Regions from separate parts of the Homo sapiens genome. Here regions 1 and 3 are each linked to region 2. Evidence: promoter capture Hi-C in human tissues and cell types (Jung and others, 2019). All regions are on one chromosome and are shown on one strand. The core of a region is centred on a gene start or on the middle of the fragment in contact, and the rest is flanking DNA. Distances in the headings are between cores, read along the strand shown.

The links. The method cuts DNA at HindIII sites, captures the fragments that hold promoters and counts their contacts. A contact is called where the count stands out against the background at its distance.
Region 1: a fragment that was not itself captured here is called in contact with the fragment with the promoter of PJA2 in region 2 in 2 of the 25 tissues and cell types used here (hippocampus and spleen).
Region 3: a fragment that was not itself captured here is called in contact with the fragment with the promoter of PJA2 in region 2 in 2 of the 25 tissues and cell types used here (dorsolateral prefrontal cortex and lymphoblastoid cells).

The regions. Positions count from the first base shown.
Region 1 is chr5:108,762,951-108,765,751 of GRCh38, reverse strand. All of the region lies in intron 1 of FER (FER tyrosine kinase), which reads right to left. Among named protein-coding and RNA genes, the nearest start is that of FER, 16 kb to the right of the region's middle. The HindIII fragment of the contact is 7,509 bases long and covers 1-2,801 here.
Region 2 is chr5:109,408,631-109,411,330 of GRCh38, reverse strand. It overlaps PJA2 (praja ring finger ubiquitin ligase 2), which reads left to right and starts at 1,357. Exons shown (of 10, transcript NM_014819.5): 1 at 1,357-1,489. RefSeq lists enhancers at 723-902, 2,013-2,132, 2,173-2,272 and a silencer at 1,413-1,492. The HindIII fragment of the contact is 22,167 bases long and covers 1-2,700 here.
Region 3 is chr5:108,623,951-108,626,650 of GRCh38, reverse strand. No RefSeq gene overlaps it. Among named protein-coding and RNA genes, the nearest start is that of LINC01023, 100 kb to the left of the region's middle. The HindIII fragment of the contact is 5,216 bases long and covers 1-2,700 here.

The DNA.
Region 1 (2,801 bases), core at 215-2,714, 650 kb after region 2:
AAATGTTTAAACTCTCTTCTCTATCAGCAAAGATAGTTGCATTATTTAGAATTCCCTGTTCTAGTCTCTCACTTTGCTATGGAAATGGTTATTTCCACAGACCTAAGTTCAAGAAAGACAACTATTCAACTGAGATTCCATGCCCAATATTGAGCAGTGTCAAGTATCTTGCTCAGGAAAGCTAGCCCACTGTAGTCCTAGCTACTCAAGAGGCTGAGGCAGAAGGATCACTTGAGCCTAGGAGGTCAAGCCTGCAATGAGCTGTGATCACATCACTGTACTCAAGCATGGGTAAGAGAGCAATACCCTGTCAAAAAAAAAGAAAAGAGAAAAGAAAGTAAGCTAGTCACAGGACCCATGTATTGTGTCTCAATCTCTAACTCAGTCTTTTCTATAATTTTTATTTTCCAATGAAACAAAAAGCATTTTTCTTTGATATTGAAAAGATTTGGGTTAAAAGTAACAACTTTTTTTGGTGGCATCTCTAAATGGAACTTTTTAAAATTCAAACTACTATAAACCTATGAATCAAAAAAATTATATTCCTTGCGTTACTTCAAAGGTATTATCATGCTTACCAGACTCAGCAAACGTTTCCATACATAACAGTTGAAAATGCATAATGACTGCTTTCTAATGCACCTTAATCTTCCCCAAGAACTTCCTCAATTACACATACTTTCATCTCTAACGCACATTCATAGCCAAAAAATAGTTCCTATTCCCTGAAATATGCTTGTCTTCACAAATGGGACTAGGGTGATGCAAAAGAAATACCTGGGGCGCAAAATTTAAGGAGATACTCTCAGGATCATGCAAGTGCCACCCTGCAGCTGCATGACCCTAAAAGTGATTATGTCTCATATTTTGTGTCCTAGGCAACTCTCTTGCCTTACCCTAGTCCTGGCTCTACTTCTCTTTCCCATCTCTACTCTCCCCACTTCTCTAATAAATATCCCCTTAGTTTTTCAAAATCCAATTCTGATAAACTAAATATTTATTTTAAACAAAGAATTTAAGTATAATTTTACAACCATTTAAAATTATGTTTCCACGGCCAGGTGCAGTGGCTCATGCCTGTAATCCCAGCACTTTGGGAGGTCAAGGTGGGTGGATCACCTGAGGTCAGGAGTTCAAGATCAGCCTGACCAACATGGAGAAACCCCATCTCTACTAAAAATACAAAATCAGCCGGGCATGGTGGCGCATGCCTGTAATCCCAGCTACTTGGGAGGCTGAGGCAGGAGAATCGCTTGAACACGGGAGGTAGAGGTTGCAGTGAGCCAAGATGGCGTCACTGCACTGCAGTCTGGGCAACAAGAGTGAAACTTCGTCTCAAAAATAAATAAATAAATAATAAAATTAAATTTAAAAAATAAAATAAAATTGTTTTCAAAGAAAATTTCTTGTTCATGATATGTGGTAGGTAAAAAATAAATGAAGTAGTTATATCTATATACAGTAAGATTATATTTTTTTAAATGATTGTGAGTTGCATGTGCATGTAAGTAATAGACCTGTGTTGTTTTTTACTCTGAAGCATCTATCTCCCCTTCTGTTGGTAGCAGCATCTTAATTTTCTTTTCCCAAACTATCCTTCTCTTATCATCAATCCACACGGTTTGGGTGGCATTGATCACCAGCACTCTAATGTTTCTGGGGTAGGAACATAACCTGGGTCTGGGAAATCAGCATATTCCTTCTCGCAAGCAGTAGTTTAGGAATAGGTATGTTACCCAAATTGAACAGATAATACTGAATCCCAACATTTTTGCAGAAGCTAATCAGGAAGGAAAGTCATCTTTCAGCCAAGGTTGCTAAACTGAAAGATGATGATAAGTACCTACTAGACAATCAAGCAACCCAAACAAAGAACCAAGAGAAGAGAAACGGAGAAATGTCTGAAAATATTTTGCCCCTATATATGAGTTCAGATGTAAATAGATATAGCTGCTGGAATTCAGAATTACTGCTGGGAAACAATTCACTCTGCATTTCTCATGTTCCTGCACAGAATCTTCTGACCAAAATGTACTACAAATGGATATTTGCATAACAGACAGCCTTGGAAGCTAGAGACAGTATCTCCCTAAAGATAGAAAACTCCAAAGAGCTTTGGAGAAATTAAGCCTTCTCCTTCCCCTCCCTGGAAACATTTACTTATATTCTAGGGTAAGAAACCTAAAGATACCTTCTCCCTCTCCTCTGGAAGCGATGTGTTTAATAAGTAATCTCTCTCTCGCTCTGCAGGGGAGGATGGCAGATGTGCCAACACCCTATACAAGCTTGGAGTCTCCTCATTTCAAGGCTCCTCTCCTATGATGCAAATCTGCTGCATGTGTAGGTAAACACCTGGCCCTCATCACATTGTTTTGTCACAGAGATGGGGCAGGGAGAACTAGCACTAAGATATTTCTCTGGCCACTGCTTTTACTGCAATAAACCCTCTGAGTCTCTGACCCAGGGCTCTTCTATTAATGTATGTATATAAAAGTATGGCAAGGTAACTTGCTTGTTTGCAAACAGGGTATTCTAAGTCCCTTCAGAGTTTCAGAGTTAATGGTTACGTGAGGCAACGACACATTTTTTTTTTCTTATTTATTAATTCGTTCAACAAATATTTGCTGAAAGCCTACTATGCTATCTGTGTGCCATGAGTTTTCCTATACAACAGGTAAAAATTCTTGCCTTCCTGGAGATTATATTCTAGAAAGAGGAAACAAACAAAATACAAAATAAGTAAGTAAAATACACAGTGTTAGGTAGTAATAAGCACTATTTTTAAAAGCAGAAAAAGGTAA
Region 2 (2,700 bases), core at 108-2,607:
TTAAAGTCAGAACTCCTATAGCAACACGTGTGAAGGCAGAGTAATATCAAGCAAGGAATGGTTTTTTGGTAAGAAACGTACTACAGGAGTGGGCTGGGATTCAGATTGGATTTCACAAAATGTCTGGCAAATTCTCATAAACCTAAATTTCTACAGTAAATTTTGGGTAATTTATTTCCATCAACAGCAAAAAAAAATTAGTCTCAGTTCACTGGCAAGAGAGTTCGCTGTTGTTAAGGGGACAGCACAAGAAGTGGGGCTCTTAATTCGCGGGGGAGGGGTGGCGATGAATATATCCTGGGCATCAGGCGACGGGTCGGGGGTGGGGAATAAGAGAAGACAGAGGGACTGTAATCAGATAAGCGGACACGTTTCAAGATGAATAAAGGGAATATGTGCGGAACGAAGAAACAGTTTTGTATCACTGACATAATTAACTAAACTGTTACCCAGGTTTAAATTAAGCAAGGTGTCCGGGGACTGCAGCTGTTGTATTTATTTTGGTTGCATGTGATGGGAGCTGTTACTTCCCGGCTTGACAAACAGCCTCAAGATGCAAGCTGGGAGGCTGTGGTCAGCCCAAGGCTATACAGAGGAAAGGCAGGCCTCCTCTGAACCCCGCCCCAGCAGAATAAGAAGCGAGGGGCAAGGGTCAGCGCGGAGAGGGAGGGTGGAAAGCGCCATATAGTGCCCAGGGTCAGGGTGGGTAAACAAGCCTTTCTTCGTGTCATTTTTTTTTTTTGTCTCACCGATATCTGCATTGTAACTGAACTTTATGCCAGGAGACCTTAACCTTGTTAATCAGGTTTCCAGTCGAATCAGGATCGATTTTAATGCCTCCATTTTGGTTGTTGCTGTTGGAATTTCCGAAAAAGCCTAACTGCGCCAGTCTTTCTGTTAGTTCTCCACACCCCCTTCCCTTTCCGAGACCCCGCCCTTTTCTCTCAGCCCAAACCACAAAAGGCCGCGCAGTTTTAGCTCCTACACGGTGCTCCGCCCCCTCCCCAAACGTCGCAGTACTGCAGGGAAAGGAGGTGGGCTCGGCTGGGGCGGGGGACTGAGTCGGCTTCGTCTTTCCGCTCTTCAGCCAATTGGTGAACTCCCCCTGAGGGAGATGGGGGAGCAGGCTGTAGAGAAGGTCCAAGTATTTTTCCCTTTTTCTGCCACGTCCCAACCATTGACGTGAGCCCACTCCTCAGGTTCTGATTGGGCGTATGCATTGTCCCCCAGCAGAGACCCTGTAAGCTGACTGGTCATCTCTGCTATGGGGGAGGGGCTTGCGTACTCTCCTCCTTCGCCTCCACCGCGGCGCAAGGGGCGGGACTCACCGCCACCGCCTCTGCTTCCGCCGCCGCCACCGCCGCCGCCGCCGCCACAGCCGCCAGCCGCTTCGCGTTCGGCGGGGGAGGAGTTGGAGGCGGAGAAGAAGGCGGTGGTGGCGGGTGGAGGTTCGAGCGCTGTTCTCGCTCCGGAGCCGCTGCACATTTCGGTGAGGGTTTTTTTTTTTTTTTTTCAGTCTGGCTTGTTCCGCTGTCGGGAGTGTGGGGGTCGGGGCGAGGAAATTGCTGCGTTCAGCTCCTCAGTTTCTCTGTCTCTAGCTTCGGAAGGAGCGGGGCTTGTCCCTGGCCTGCTGCGCCGGCCATGGTGGGTGGGGTTGATGGCTGTGGGAGGCCTTCTTCGCCTCCTGGGCCCTGTCCAGCCCGGACCCGGGCCGCGCTCCTATCCGGGACGGTCGCGCCCGCCGCCCCCCGACAGATGACATTGGTTGGTATCGGGGTCTTCGCTGCCGCTCTTTACTGCTGCCTCTTCTGCTGTCCTTGGTGACTTGGCCAAGGAGCCCGCTGGCTTTCCCCTACACTCGCCACTGTACAAGAGTTTGCCCCCCAACCAACACCTCACACCCACCTTCTGCGGTTTCCCGTCACCCCGCGTAGAGCGGAACCATCTTACGCCACAGGCCTGCAGCACCCCTCCCCCGAGGAGCCTTCTGTTGCCGTCGTTTTGCTGGGCGTCTGCATTTTCCCCGATTGTCAGTGAGGCTCGGCACGCAGACACCCCGCTCGAGCCGCAGCAGTCGCTCTACTCCCGGGATCAGCACCTTTCCGCCAGGGCTGCTCTCAGTTAGCGATGTCAGGCCAGAGCTCCTCTTGCAGATGCACCTTTAATTTGGCCTCCCTCAGATGACTGGTAATCATTTTGCGCACATTCAAAATGGTGAGGTTAAAGACGCTCAGACCAAGTTGAAGCAAAGGGGAGGTGGTAAATAGTCGTTTTGCAGGGAGGAGAGTAATCTGAGAGTTCCTTCTCCGGACATTAAAAAAAAAAAAATTTACATCCGCATAGGCGCTTCTTTTGAGTCTGCTGGTTCTGTGAAGTTTAAAATTTTCATTGCAGGCTTAATGTATTCTGTTTTATCATGAAATATTTGGTCACATTTCTTTAAAATGGCAGTCACCTTTGCTGAAGGCTACGGATCATTTGAAGTGTATGTGAATAAACCTGAGGATAACAGTAATAAACGTTTAAACTGTATTTTTCAGTGTTGTAATTGTCTTTTGGGGTTCATGTCATTTTTATATGAGATGACCACTTAATTTTAAAAATTCATTGCAGACATGCAAGTTTGATGTACACTTCAACAATATAAATAACGGACTGTTAGGTAAAATTTAAATATTTCTTTTCATCCCCCAGTCCCAC
Region 3 (2,700 bases), core at 150-2,649, 780 kb after region 2:
TCTTGACTCACGAAGGCAGGTCAGACTCCAAGCTTCTTTAGGGTTAAAATGTGCCTGTGAACAGGTTGCCAGCATTCTGAGCCTGATTTTTCTTCTTCTTTTGAATTCAGAACACCTCCTGAGGTTTCTTCACTACATCCTCACACAGTCCCCTTAGCGGACTCATGGTTGGTCTGGTTAAAAGCTAGTCTGAACACTATCTTCGCTACCTGCTGTGGGCTGACAGACTCTAACTTTGTTGTGTTTCCAGATCTTTGTCTCTTACTGTTTGGAAATGGGAATATACAGCTGCAATGTGGCAATCAAAGTGGGGGAGGTGATCATTTACATTCTAACACACAGAGACTTCCTAGTCAAGGTTACTTATAAATCAAATGGATGTCATTTCATAAACACCCCCAAACAACTGTATTTCATTATGAAAATGTGAAGCAGTGCTGTTAATTGATATCTAAGGACTAAAATCAATTTAACTTACAGACACTCAGCTGCTACAACAGTTGTGAACATGTCTGAATGTTAATAAACACTGATTAGTATTAATACCATACAAGATTTTAAATGTGGCTGGCATGAAATTCTCAATCTAATGGACAGGGAAGCCTGTTGACAAAGATTTATTCTCTATATTCTCTTGTAGACAGAAATTTTCTTAGGCTTGACAGCATCACCATCAGTTTCACAAGCGTACTATGGCACTTGGTTTTTTAGAGACTATAACAATCTCATGAAAAGAAAGAGGGTTGAACACTCATTTGTCACTCAGACACAACACTGAAATGACACAGAGCAAACTGAGGAGCAGCAAGTGAAATGTGAAAATGAAGAGGAAAGAGAAAGTGAAGATGCACAGGCCATAATAATACAGAACAGCGGTACAGATGAGGGACTGTTCCCCAGAGAAGTTGACAGTAGCCATGACCTCCAAAACAAGTGATAATGCAGAGACACAGCTTACTTTTGTTACCTTTCAACACAATGTAAAGGAGCAAAATGAAAGGAAGAAAAATATATTGATTGGAATTGCAGAGATCGTCTGATTTTAGCAAGTTTCATGTGAACTCTGATTCTCTTTTCTCGCTCACCATTATTTGCCTTGACTATTCTGTATAGAAAATGTCTCCACTCAGAGTGGAGAGGTAAGGTCAGGATTAATATGATTCAGTGGGTTTTACTTGAATAATATCTCTGTTCTAGGATAGTTATATTTTAACTGAACACAGTTAAACACAAAAATATTTCAAAACCACTTCAACTTCCACCAGTCTCCACTGTAGGAAAAAGTATACAAAGAGGCTCAACAAATGTTTCACCTAAAAAAACAGGTGAAAAGAGAACACTACCTTTAAAAATGCAATCAAATTTAAATGACAGTCCATGCAAAATTTTTGTTTTGGAAATTGGCAATCAAATTCTAAAACTTAGATGGAAAGGCAAAGAGCCAAGCATAGCTAAGGCAATCTTAAAGAAAAACAAAGCTGCTGGACTTGTATTATCAGATACCAAGAGCTGTAATAATTAAGACAGTATGGTAGTGGCATAAGAATTGACAAATAGAGCAATGGAAGAGAAAAGAAAGTCCAGAAATAGGCCTAAACATATATGGTTACCTGATTTATGACAAAGATGACATTGCAGTGCAGTGGGGAAAGAATAATCTTCTTAATAATTGGTGTTGGATCAAGTAGATACCCAGATGGGAAAAATAAATTTGTGCCCCACCTCTCACCATACAAAAAAATAAATTCTAAATGGGTTGCAGATCCAAATGTGAAAGGTAAAACAAAGTTTCTAGAAGAAAATGTAGGAGAATTTCTTCATGACTGTGACATGGGCAAAATTTCTTAACCATATAAAGAAAAAGATTGATAAATTGAACTTCAAGCACTGTGTATTAAAGGACACCATTAAATGGGTAAAACTACCACCCATCATATAGGGAAGATATTTGTAATACAGATAACCAACCAAGGACTTAAAGCCAGATTATGTAAAGAATAATGCAAATTGGGAAAAACTCTAATATTTTATGGTGTTTTCTCTGCTCTCACACCACAAAAATCATCAACATAGAAGACTTCTGGGACCAAATGTGTGTGTGAGAAGGCTCTCCCCACCACCAAGTGGGCAATCAGTTCCCCAGTGGACAGCACTGGGTGTCCCCCCATTCAGTTCCGACACTATCTACCTGGAGATAACATCAGATCTCACAGGTTGAAGGCTCGGTCCCCAAGAATATCCACTTTCAGATACCAGTCTCAAGTCCTGGCCTCTGGAACTTCTGACCAACAAGCTTCAAGTTAAGCTTCCCACGACCCTCTCTTTGGGTTTGATTAATTTGCTGGAGTGGCTCACAGAACTCAAGGAAACACTTACATTTACTGGTTTATTATAAAGGATATTACAAAGGCTACAGATGAAGAGATACATAAGGAGAGGAGGGGAAGGTGTGTGGAGCTTCCATGCCCTCCCTGGGAGCACCACCCTCTAGGAACCTCCATGTATTCAGCTATCTGGAAGCTCACCAAACCCTGTCCTTTTGGGTTTTTATGGAGGCTTCATTACATAGGCATGATTGACAACTTCATAGACATGTGACTGGACAAGAGTATGATCTCATACTAGAAGACTGAGTGGGGAAACTCAGCAAGACCTGTCTGTTCAGATTCTTCTTGTCCATTCTGTGCAGCATTCCTTCCT